2 separate regions of the Homo sapiens genome follow, and region 1 is linked to region 2. Evidence: promoter capture Hi-C in human tissues and cell types (Jung and others, 2019). All regions are on one chromosome and are shown on one strand. The core of a region is centred on a gene start or on the middle of the fragment in contact, and the rest is flanking DNA. Distances in the headings are between cores, read along the strand shown. Region 1 overlaps CARM1 (coactivator associated arginine methyltransferase 1). Region 2 holds the start of PRKCSH (PRKCSH beta subunit of glucosidase II).

Region 1 (5,765 bases), core at 840-3,339, 540 kb before region 2:
ATGGTGGAGGGCTGCTTCCTGGGAAGCAAGAAAGGCTGCCTCAAAGATGGGGCAATTTTTCTACCCCCTTCCCTGCAGTTCCAGCCCCTCCTCCCTTGGCCCCAGAGCTTCATCAGGGCCGACTGCAGTGTGGCAGGCCAGCGAGTAGCCCCAGGCTGGGTCCAGGGGTGGCCAAAGCGTAACACTCAGTCCGGGTTTGTGTTCTTTACGTTCCCCGTTGGAGACTCCACCTGGAGATCCCAGTCCCTTTCCTTTTACTGCAGGGTAAAGAAATGCTAGCTCTGGGCCGGGCACGGTGGCTCACACCGGTGATCTCAGCACTTTGGGAGGTCGAGGTGGGTGAATCACCTGAGATCAGGAGTTTGAGATCAGCCTGGTCAACGAGGTGAAACCCTGTCTCTAGGCTGGATGCGGTGGCTCACTCCTGTAATCCCAGCACTTTGGGAGGCTGAGGCAGGCGGATCACGAGGTCAGGAGATCGAGACCATCCTGGCTAACACGGTGAAACCCCGTCTCTACAAAAAATACAAAAAAAATTAGCCGGGCGAGGTGGCGGGCGCCTGTAGTCCCAGCTACTCGGGAGGCTGAGGCAGGAGAATGGCGTGAACCCCAGGGAGTGGAGCCTGCAGTGAGCCAAGATTGCGCCACTGCACTCCAGCCTGGGAGACAGCGAGACTCCGTCTCAAAAAAAAGAAAAAAAAAAAAAGAAACCCTGTCTCTAATAAAAATACAAAAATTAGCCAGGTGTGGTGGTGCATGCCTGTAATCCCAGCTACTCGGGAGGCTGAGACAGGAGAATCGCTGGAACCTGGGAGATGGAGGTTACGGTGAGCTGAGATTTTGCCACTGCACTCCAGTCTAGGCGACAGAGTGAGACTTAGTCTCAAAAAAAAAAGATACCCCAGCTGTGGCCTGGCCTCAATTGGCCTGAACTCACCACGGCCTCCTGGCTCTAGAGTCTGCTTTTTGGTCACCCTTGCCTGCTAGCCCTGCAGCCTGTCCCCCACCTCTCCAGGCCATGTGCACACAGTCCCCAACATGCGCCGGCTGATGCCGCAACAGTGGTGCTTTTTGGATTTGTCTCTAGAGGCCAACACAGAGGGCCTTTCTGAATCCTGGGGTCCTGCCCCCTTCCGCGGCTCCCATACTGCTCCTCCCCAGCTGAATGGCCGCTTTGGGAGGTGGTTGCTGGCCTTGAGAGGATGCCACAGTGAGTTTCCTGCGGGCAGGGCTGCATCTGTGGCGAGCACTGAATCGCCACTGCTGGATCCAGATGCCTGTGCGTCCCGGGCCCCAAGGCTCCCTTCTACCCTCCTCCTGGGGTGCTGTTCGCAAGCCAGGAGACAGGCTGTGCATTCCCTGCCTACTCAGAGGTGACCCTGGGCCAGGTGTGCGATGGCCCACTGGACCCATAGTAGCAGAGGGAGGGGAGAGGAAGGGAGAAAGTGGGAACAGCATGTGCAGAGGCCTGGGGCCTGGCCCATGTAGGGACTAGAGGGTTGAGTGTGTCCATGGGGAGGGGCCAAGACGGGGAGAGCCATGAGGAATGATGGGCACAGAGCTCAGAGGCTCGGGAGTCTCCTGAACAAAGAGAGGAACACGGCTTAGCTTGTTTTTTTTTTTTTTTTTTTTGGTTTGTCAGTATTTCCCAGGTGTCTTCTGTGTGCCAGGGACTAACTTGGGGATAAAGCTGTGACTTTGAGAAGCTGCCGGCTCCGCGGGCTTTAGCAGCTGCTGCTGTGATGAAGCGATCCACTTGCCCTCAGCCCCGGCATCTTTGGCCCAAGCCCAGCCCTAGCCCTGGCTGGGCACAGCCAGGCTTCACTTGGCCACAGGTCCTGTAGTTGCCTGCCTGGCGCCAGGTCAGAGAGGGACGCCTCAGGCAACATCGGGTTGCCAGGCTGCTTGGTAAACAGGCCTCCCTGGGCCCACTTGCTGTCGCCCAGGTGTGGCTAACAGATCGACAGTATCTCCTGCCCCAGGACGGGTATGAGTGTGGGCACCATGCCAAGGTTGGATGTCCCTTCCTGGGACCCACCCACAGCTGGGAGCACTTTATCTTGGGCCTCTGTGGGTGTAGTGAGGCTGTGAGTCTGGGGCAGTGGCCTGCTGACACCCTCCTGGCAGGGCTCAGGAGGTTCCTCCATGCCCTGCCCTCAGGAGGGCGGCACCTGGCTCCTGGGGTGGGAGAGAGTCTGGCAGGACTGGCTGGGTGTGGCCGGGGAGCTGCCCTTCAGGTCTCATATCTGTAGGCCCTCATACCTGGACTCGTCAGTTAGGAACAGTTTTCTTTTTCTTTTTCTTTTTTTTTTTTTTTGAGACGGAGTCTCACTCTGTCGTCCAGGCTGGAGTGCAGTGGTGCCATCTCGGCTCACTGCAACCTCCACCTCCCGGGTTCAAGCGATTCTCCTGCCTCAGCCTCCTGAGTAGCTGGGATTACAGGCACCCGCCATCATGCCTTGCTAATTTTTGTATTTTTAGTAAAGACGGGGTTTTGCCATGTTGGACAGGTGTGTCTCAAACTCCTGGGTTCAAGTGATCCGCCCACCTCCCAAAGTGCTGGAATTACAGGCGTGAGCCACCACGCCTGGCCCATTTTTCATTTTCTATTGAAACAAAATTCACACCTGTAATCCCAGCACTTTGGAGGCCAAGGTGAGAGGATCACTTGAGCCCCAGGAGTTTCAGACTAGCCTGGGCAACATAGTGAGACCCTCATTTCTACAAAAAAATAAACAAAATTAGCCAGGGGTGGTGGCATGTGCGTGAGGTTCCAGCTACCCGGGAGGCTGAGGTGGGAGGATGTCTTGAGCCTGGGAGGTCAAGAGCTGTTGTTTCATAACATGAAATTAGCCCTTTTACAATGTTGCATAACAATCACCTCTATCTACTCCCAAAATATGTTTGTCACCCCAAAAGGAGACCCCACATCCATTAAGCAGTTGCTCCCCATTCCTGCCTTCTCCCAGCTCTCAGCCACCAGCAGTGTGCCTTCTGTGACTATTTCATATAAATAGAATCATTTGTGTCTGGCTTCTTTCGGCATGATGTTTCTGCTATTCATTCATGTTGCAGCATGGCTCAGTGCTTCCTTTATTTTTATGGCTGAATAATGTTTCATTTTATAGATAAGCCATATTTGTTTATCTGTTTGTCAGTTTATGGACATTTGGGTTGTATTTCTATCTTGTGTCTGTCGTGAATAAGTACTGCTGTGAATGCTTGCATACGAGTGTCTGTTGGTTTTTTTTGCTTTGTTTTGTTTTTATTTTTATTTTTTTGAGATGAGTCTGGCTCTGTCGCCCAGGCTGGGGTGCAGTGGCGTGATCTCGGCTCACCGCAAGCTCCGCCTCCCAGGTTCCTGCCATTCTCCTGCCTCAGCCTCCCGAGTAGCTGGGACTACAGGCACCCGTCACCACACCCGGCTAATTTTTTGTATTTTTAGTAGAGACGGGGTTTCACCGTGTTAGCCAGGATGGTCTCGATCTCCTGACCTTGTGATCCACCCGCCTCGGCCCCCCAAAGTGCTGGGATTACAGGTGTGAGCCACTGCACCCGGACTTTTTTTTTTTTTTTCTGAAGCGGAGTCTCACTCTGTTGCCCAAGCTAAAGTGCAGTGGCGCTATCTCAGCTCACTGCAACCTCCACCTCCCTGATTCAAGCAATTCTCCCTGTCTCAGCTTCCTGAGTAGCTGGGACTACAGGCACCCACCATCATGTCTGGCTAATTTTTGTGTTTTTAGTAGAGACGGCATTTTGCCATGTTGACCAGGCTGGTCTTGAACTCCTGACCTCAGGTGATCTGCCTGCCTCGGCCTCCCAAAGTGCTGGGATTACAGGCATGAGCCACTGCACTTGGCCAGCTTTTTGTTTGTTTGTTTGTTTTTGTTTTTGTTTTTTTAAAGAGGTGGAGTCTTGCTATGTTGCCCAGGCTGGAGTGCAGTGGCTGTTCACAGGCAGTCATAGCTAACTGCAACCTTGAGCTCCCGGGCTCAAGCAATCCTTCCACCTCAGCCTCCCGAGTAGCTGGGATCTCAGGCATGCACCACCATGCCCGGCTAATTTTGTTTATTTTTTTGTAGCGATAGAGATGGGGTCTTACTATGTTGCCCAGGCTGACCTTGAACTCCTGGCCTCAAGTTATCCTCCCATCTTGGCCTCCCAAAGTGCTGGGATTACAGGCATGAGCCTGTGCCTGGCCCTGGCTATCTCTTTGTTGTTGAGTTAAAAAAGTTCTTGGCCCAGCCCAGTGGCTCATGCCTGTAATCCCAGCACTTTGAGATGCCGAGGCGGACAGATCACACGAGGCTAGGACTTCAAAACCAGCCTGGCCAACATGACAAAACCCCGTCTCTACCAAAAATACAGAAATTACTGGGTGTGATGATGCATGTCTGTAATCCCAGCTACTCAGGAGGCTGAGGCATAAGAATCGCTTGAACGCAGCTACTCAGGAGGCAGAGGTTGCAGTGAGCCAAGATAGTGCTGCTGCACTCCAGCCTGGGCAACAGATCAAGAATCTGTCTCAAGAAAATATATAGGCCGGGCACAGTGGCTCACCTCTGTAATCCCAGCACTTTGGGACGCCGAGGCAGACAGAGCGCTTGAGCTCAGGAGCTCAAGACCAGCCTGACCAACATGGTGAAACTCCATCTCTACGAAAACTACAAAAATAAGCTGGACGTGGTGGTGCACACCTGTAGTCCCCCAGCTACTCGGGAGGCTGAGGCAGGAGAATCCCTAGAATCTGGGAGGCAGAGGTCACAGCAAGCCAAAATTGTGCCACTGCATTCCAGGCTGGGTGATGGAGTGAGACTCCATCTCAAAAAATAAATATAATAAAAATAGATACAAAATAATTGTTGTTTCTTTTTTTTTTTTTTTTTTTTTGAGACGGAGTCTTACTCTGTTGCCCAGGCTGGAGTACAGTGGTGTGATCTTGGCTCACTGCAAGCTCCACCTCCCGGGTTCACACCATTCTCCTGCCTCAGCCTCCTGAGTAGCTGGGACTATAGGCACTTGCCACTATGCCCAGCTAATTTTGTTTTGTTTTGTTTTGTTGTATTTTTAGTAGACACAGGGTTTCACTGTGTTAGCCAGCATGGTCTTGATCTCCTGACCTCGTGATCCACCCATCTTGCCCTCCCAAAGTGCTGGGATTACAGGCGTGAGCCACTGTGCCCAGACTTTTTTTTTTTTTTTTTGAGACATGCTCTTATTCTTGTCACCCAGGCTAGAGTGCAGCGTTGCCATCTCTGCTCACTGCAGTGTCAACTTCCTGGGCTCAGGTGATTCTCCCACCTCAGCCTCCCAAGTAATTGGGACTACAGGCGCATGCCACTACACCGACTAATATTTTTATATTTTTAGTAGAGACGGGATTTCACCATGTTGCCCAGGCTGGTCTCAAACTCCTGGGTTCTAGTAATCTGCCTGACTCCCAAAGTACTGGGATTACAGGTGTCAGCCACCATGCCTGACCCTAAAATAGTTTTTTATATATTCTGGACACTAAATACTTAACAATAGATGATTTGCAAATAGTTCTCCTAAGAGTTTTCTTGTTTTAGCTCTTATATTTAGGTCATTGCTCCATTTGAGTTCTGTTTTGTTTGTATATGGTGTGAGGTAGGGGTTTAACTTCATTCTTTTCTCTGTGGTTATCCAGTTTTCTCAACAGTGTTTGTTGAAGACACTATTCTTTCCCCATTGAATGTTCTTGGCATCCTTATCAAAAATCAATTGAGGATAAGTATAAGGGTTTA
Region 2 (5,629 bases), core at 276-2,775:
GGCTGAGGCTCGAGAATCGCTTGAACCTTGGAGGCAGAGGTTGCAGTGAGCCGAGATCATGCCACTGCTCTCCAGCCTAGGCGACAGAGCAAGACCCTGTCTCAAAAAACAAAAAACAAAACAAAAAAAAACGCGGGTGCAGTGGCTCACGCCTGTAATCCCAGCAGTTTGGGAGGCCGAGGCGGGCTCACGCCTGTAATCCCAGCAGTTTGGGAGGTCAAGAGATTGAGACCACCCTGGCCAATATGGTGAAATCCCTCTGTACTAAAAATACAAAAATTAGTTAGGCGTGGTGGCGTGTGCCTGTAGTCCCAGCTACTCAAGAGGCTGAGGCAGGAGAATCGCTTGAACCCGGGAGGCGGAGGTTGCAGTGAGCCGAAATCGTTCCACTGCACTCCCACCTGGCAACAGAGTGAGATTCTGCCAAAAAAAAAAAAAAAAATAGAGAAAATAAATTACAAGAAAGTATGAAGTACAGTTCAGTCGGTTCTGAACCCATGAGAAGTTTTAAGAGACAGAGAAGGAAAAACATGAACTAAGTATGAGTTTTTGCCCAGAAACGGTTTACCTAGACTCATGCTGGAGAAATACCTTTGTCACACCATGAAGATTGGATGGGCACTGTTGACCCCTGACCCTCTGTACCCTCTGGAGCCATCTTACCTAACAGTTGTATCTTTTTATGTAACTCAGCCACCTGAGAGTGCACAGAGGGCTTCCCTGCACCTCTGTGGAAGGATCCTCCCTTGGAACGGCCTGGGGTCCACGCCTGGGCTGTGCCCTTGCCTCGGAGGTGGCTGGGTTTGCCCGAAGCCTCCCTGCCCTTGACCCTGGAAGAGGGCGTCGAAGCCTGGTCCTGAGGAGGCAGGGCGTTGGCGGAGGCCGCCCTGCACAGAGGAGATGTCATGATGGGGTTGGGGCTGAAGGCCCCTAGGGGTTAGGGGGATAACTAGGAGTCAGTCGCCCCTGTCAGGGATCCGTCAGCTCGGATTCCTAGGGCTCTGAAAAATGCACTTTCCGACCGCTAGGTGGTTGCGCTCCGCATCTCTCGGTTGCCAGGTAACCGCCTCCCCGTCTCTCTCCACTGTTTCCATGGAGATCACCCGCGTTCCGTGGCTGACACTGCGTTCTCATTGGCTGAGGCTGCATAGAGGGGCGGTCCCAACAGTGGGCGGGGTAGAGCCGCGCCGCAGGACGGAGGGTCTGGACACTTTGGGGTCACGTGCTCATTCCGTTTCCCTACCTCCCCCAACCTTATCCCGCCCCTGGGGGTTCGCGGGCATTTTTCAGGAACTTTCTTTCCGGCTTGAGAAGCCGCCACTCCCAAGATGGAGGTACGCTGCGCCGCCATTAAGAGCTAGCCCTCAGAACTATCCTCTCTAAGGTTTCACAGTCCTGCCCAAGATGGCCGTCTCGGCTCTGGCACCGCCCCCACTCCTGCCTCTCCCAACATGGCGACCCTGAGTCTCCGTTCCCGGTGCGGAACGTACGACCGGAAGTGACGGGGTCCAGAAATTTCCGCTTTCTTTCTGCAGCAGGAACCGCGGCTGCTGGACAAGAGGGGTGCGGTGGATACTGACCTTTGCTCCGGCCTCGTGTAGGTGTGAACGAGCGGGTGGGAGGGCACCTCAGTTTCTTACAGGGGGCAACCGGAGGGTGCATGTGTGGGTGTGGACGGCGGAGGCTGTTAATCCCTTTGGTCTGTTGGCGGGAATTGGGTCACAATTGGGCACAGGGAGCGGAGGTTTTGAGATCTTGAGATCCTCGCCATTGATTTGAGCAAAGTGAGACTGGCCAGGATTGGGGAGATCGCTGCCCCTCGCCCCCATATCGGAAACAAAGTGAGGCCTCATTGCCTGGAAGCGATGGAGGAATCCAATTGGCTGGAAGTAGCCCTCTCCCACTGACCGGGATCCGCTTTCTTCCTGCAGCGTGAAGACACAGCGCATCTCCCCGCTGTAGGCTTCCTCCCACAGAACCCGTTTCGGGCCTCAGAGCGTCTGGTGAGATGCTGTTGCCGCTGCTGCTGCTGCTACCCATGTGCTGGGCCGTGGAGGTCAAGAGGCCCCGGGGCGTCTCCCTCACCAGTGAGTCCTCCTGTTCACCCTCCCGCCAGGCTGGAGGTGGGAGGGGCCAACATTGGGCCTTAGGGATAGGCATTTACAGCCTTTTGACTCAGTTTCCCGGTAGTGCTCCGCTGGTGGGGATGGGAGGACAGAGGTGGTATTTGGTGGAGAAGGCGCTTACCTGCCCTGGGCTGAGCTTCCTGTACCCCGCAGATCATCACTTCTACGATGAGTCCAAGCCTTTCACCTGCCTGGACGGTTCGGCCACCATCCCATTTGATCAGGTCAACGATGACTATTGCGACTGCAAAGATGGCTCTGACGAGCCAGGTGAGCCTTTTCTCTGTTCATCCATCAGATGTTTATTGAACACTGCTCAGTGCCAGGCCCTGTCTGTGTGACCAAGATACTACCTCTGCTGGCTCCCCTTTGAGTGGGCAGAAACAAGCTCAGAAGTCAGTGGTCAGTGTTATGGCCCCGGGCAGCTGGAGGAGCCCAGAGTCGTCCTCCTCCCAAGCCTCGGGGTCAGAGAAGGCTCCTCCAAGGAGGTGAGGTTTCAGTTGAATCCCGAAGGTGCTGCAGATGGAGGGGTCAACACGGGCAAACCCCTAGAAGTGGGAGACAGGGTGGGGCCAAGAGCAATCCAGCAGGAGACAGAGGTGAAGGGAGACCCTGGCTTTTTGTTTTTGTGTGTTTTGAAGAGACAGGGTCTTGCTTTGTTGCTGAGGCTGGAGTACAGTGGCATGATCGTAGCTCACTGCAGCCTGGAACTCTTGGGCTCAAGTCATCCTCCTGCCTTGGCCTCCCAAAGTGCTGGGGTTACAGGTGTGAGCCACCGTGCCTGGATGAGACCGTGTCTTTGGTTTTGTTTTTGTTTTGAGACGGAGTCTTGCTCTGTTTCCCAGGCTGGAGTGCAGTGGCGCCATCTCGGCTCACTGCAAGCTCCGCCTCCCGGGTTCACACCGTTCTCCTGCCTCAGCCTCCTGAGTAGCTGGGACTACAGGCACCCACCACCACGCCCAGCTAGTTTTTTTTTGTATTTTTAGTAGATACAGGGTTTCACTGTGTTAGCCAGGATGGTCTCGATCTCGTCACCTTGTGATCCACCCGCCTCGGCCTCCCAAAGTGTTGGGATTACAGGCGTGAGCCACCGTACCTGGCCTTGTTTTGTTTTGTTTTTAATTTTTTTTTTTGAGATGGAGTTTCACTCTTATCGCCCAGGCTGGAGTGCAGTGGCATGATCTTGGCTCACTGCAGTCTCCACCTCCCGGGTTCAAGCGATTCTCCTGCCTCAGCCTCCTGAGTAGCTGGGATTACAGGCACATGCCACCACATCCGGCTAATTTTTCGTATTTTTAGTAGAGATGGAGTTTCATCGTGTTGGCCAGGCTGGTCTCAAACTCATCACCTCAGGTGACCCACCCGCCTCGGCCTCCCAAAGTGCTGGGATTACAGGTGTGAGCCCCCGTGCCAGGTGGAGACCCTGTTTTGAAGGGCCTCAGTGAGAAGAGGCAGGAGGCGGCACTGGAGAGCTTTATTTCGAGCCCTGGCTGTGCAGTGTACAACTCTTTCCTTCCTTTGGTTTCCTTTCCTTTCTTGTGCTGTGTGCAGTGTGGGTCAGGGGCTCTTATCTGTGGATGGATGGGACATGTCTGTCCCTGAGCTGACTCCGAAAACCTTCCCTCCCTTCTTCCTCACAGGCACGGCTGCCTGTCCTAATGGCAGCTTCCACTGCACCAACACTGGCTATAAGCCCCTGTATATCCCCTCCAACCGGGTCAACGATGGTGTTTGTGGTAAGTGAAGATGCACCAGGATTCTGGAAAGGTGGTAGAGGGAGGGAGGGAGGAGGCACTGCCAGGTCTGATCTTGGCTTCTGCCTCTGCCACAGACTGCTGCGATGGAACAGACGAGTACAACAGCGGCGTCATCTGTGAGAACACCTGCAAGTACGTGGGTGACAGTACCCCTCCCATCACCCCACCCCAAGACTTTGCCTGGCTCCACCCAGTGAATCGGGCCCACTCTCTCTTCTGCTTTTCTGTATCGGGTTCTCTGTCTGTGCCAGGTGCCTTGTGAATCCTAATCCCCACCTTTCCCTCTAGTCTGGAAGCAGGTAGGATTGTTTCCCGATTCAACAGATGGGGGAACTCAAGTTTAGAAAGGGAAATGACTTCCCCAGGGTCACATAGGAGATAGCAGAGCCGGCACTTGGACTCTAAACTTTCCATTGTCACGCTCTGCAGCAGGTCCTGAAAACCGAAACACCCACAGGCAGGTAAAGTATACAACGGAAGGAGGCCAGGCGCGGTGGCTCACACCTGTAATCCCAGCACTTTGGGAGGCTGAGGCAGGCGGATCACGAGGTCAGGAGATCGAGACCATCCTGGCTGACATGGTGAAACTCCGTCTCACTAAAAATACAAAAAATTAGCTGGGTGTGGTGGCGGGCGCCTGTAGTCCCAGCTACTCGGTGGGCTGAGGCAGGTGAGTGGCGTGAACACGGGAGGCAGAGGTTGCAGTGAGCCGAGATCGCACCACTGCAATCCAGCCTGGGCAACAGAGTGAGACTCCGTCTCAAAAAAAAAGCAAAAAAAAAAAAAGCATACAACAGAAGGAGGCCAAGTATGAGGCAATACGGAGGGGTGGGGATTGTGGCATCTAGGGGAACAGCTGTTCTCAATTCCTGCCAGCTGATCCTTTTGTAGTTCATAGGCATGATGATTTATTTTTATTTATTTATATTTTTTGAGACAGGGTCTCACTCTGTCGCCCAGGCTGGAGTGCAGTGGCGTGATCTTGGCTCACTGCAACCTCTGCCCTTCGGGTTCAAGCAATTCTCACACCTCAGCCTCCCAAGTAGCTGGGAATACAGGCGTACCCCCACCACGCCTGGCTAACTTTTGTATTTTTGGTAGAGATGGTTTCACTATGTTGGCCAGGCTGGCCTCGAACGCCTGACCTCAGGTGATCTGCTCGCCTCAGCCTCCCAAAGTGCTAAGCCGCCGCGCTTGGCCACGATGATTAGGTTTTTATGCACGTGTGAGAGATACGCCTCCCTTAAACCTTGTTGCGACCTTGGCGCATTACCTGTCTGATATGAAAAAATAAGACCCGGCTCATGGTGGCTCCTGCCTGTAATCCCAGCATTTTGGGAGGCTGAGGCAGGAAGACTGCTTGAGCCCAGGAGTTTGAGACCAGCCTGGGCAAAATAGCGATACCCTATCTCTATAAAAAGTAAAAAAAAAAAATTAAAAAGTAAAAATAAAAATTGGAAATTATAATTTAAAAAATTACTGGTTGGGCATGTGGCTCACACCTGTAATCCCAGCACTTTGGGAGGCTAAGGCGAGAGGATCACCTTAACCCAGGAGTTTGAGACCAGCCTGGGCAACACAGTGAGACCCGTCTCAGAAAAATTTTTCTTTTCTTTTTTTTTTTTTTTTTTTTTTTTTTTGTGAGACAGAGTCTCACTCTGTTGCCCAGGCTGGATGGAGTGCAGTGGCGCGATCTCGGCTCACTCTAACCTCTGCCTCCCGGGTTCAAGCGATTCTTCTGCCTTA

Evidence for each region. The method cuts DNA at HindIII sites, captures the fragments that hold promoters and counts their contacts. A contact is called where the count stands out against the background at its distance.
Region 1: a contact is called between a fragment that was not itself captured here and the fragment with the promoter of PRKCSH in region 2, in 1 of the 25 tissues and cell types used here (spleen).

Annotation. Positions count from the first base shown.
Region 1 is chr19:10,897,422-10,903,186 of GRCh38, forward strand. All of the region lies in intron 1 of CARM1 (coactivator associated arginine methyltransferase 1), which reads left to right. Among named protein-coding and RNA genes, the nearest start is that of YIPF2, 28 kb to the right of the region's middle. RefSeq lists an enhancer at 1,824-2,441. The HindIII fragment of the contact is 8,039 bases long and covers 1-5,765 here.
Region 2 is chr19:11,434,110-11,439,738 of GRCh38, forward strand. It overlaps PRKCSH (PRKCSH beta subunit of glucosidase II), which reads left to right and starts at 1,526. Exons shown (of 18, transcript NM_001289104.2): 1 at 1,526-1,597; 2 at 1,932-2,087; 3 at 2,280-2,396; 4 at 3,767-3,862; 5 at 3,958-4,015. The coding sequence starts at 2,009. It overlaps ODAD3 (outer dynein arm docking complex subunit 3), which reads right to left and starts at 1,012. Exons shown (of 13, transcript NM_145045.5): 1 at 664-1,012. The coding sequence starts at 907. It also overlaps the pseudogene LOC124904800. RefSeq lists enhancers at 1,131-1,630, 1,204-1,613, 1,864-2,083. The HindIII fragment of the contact is 12,471 bases long and covers 1-5,629 here.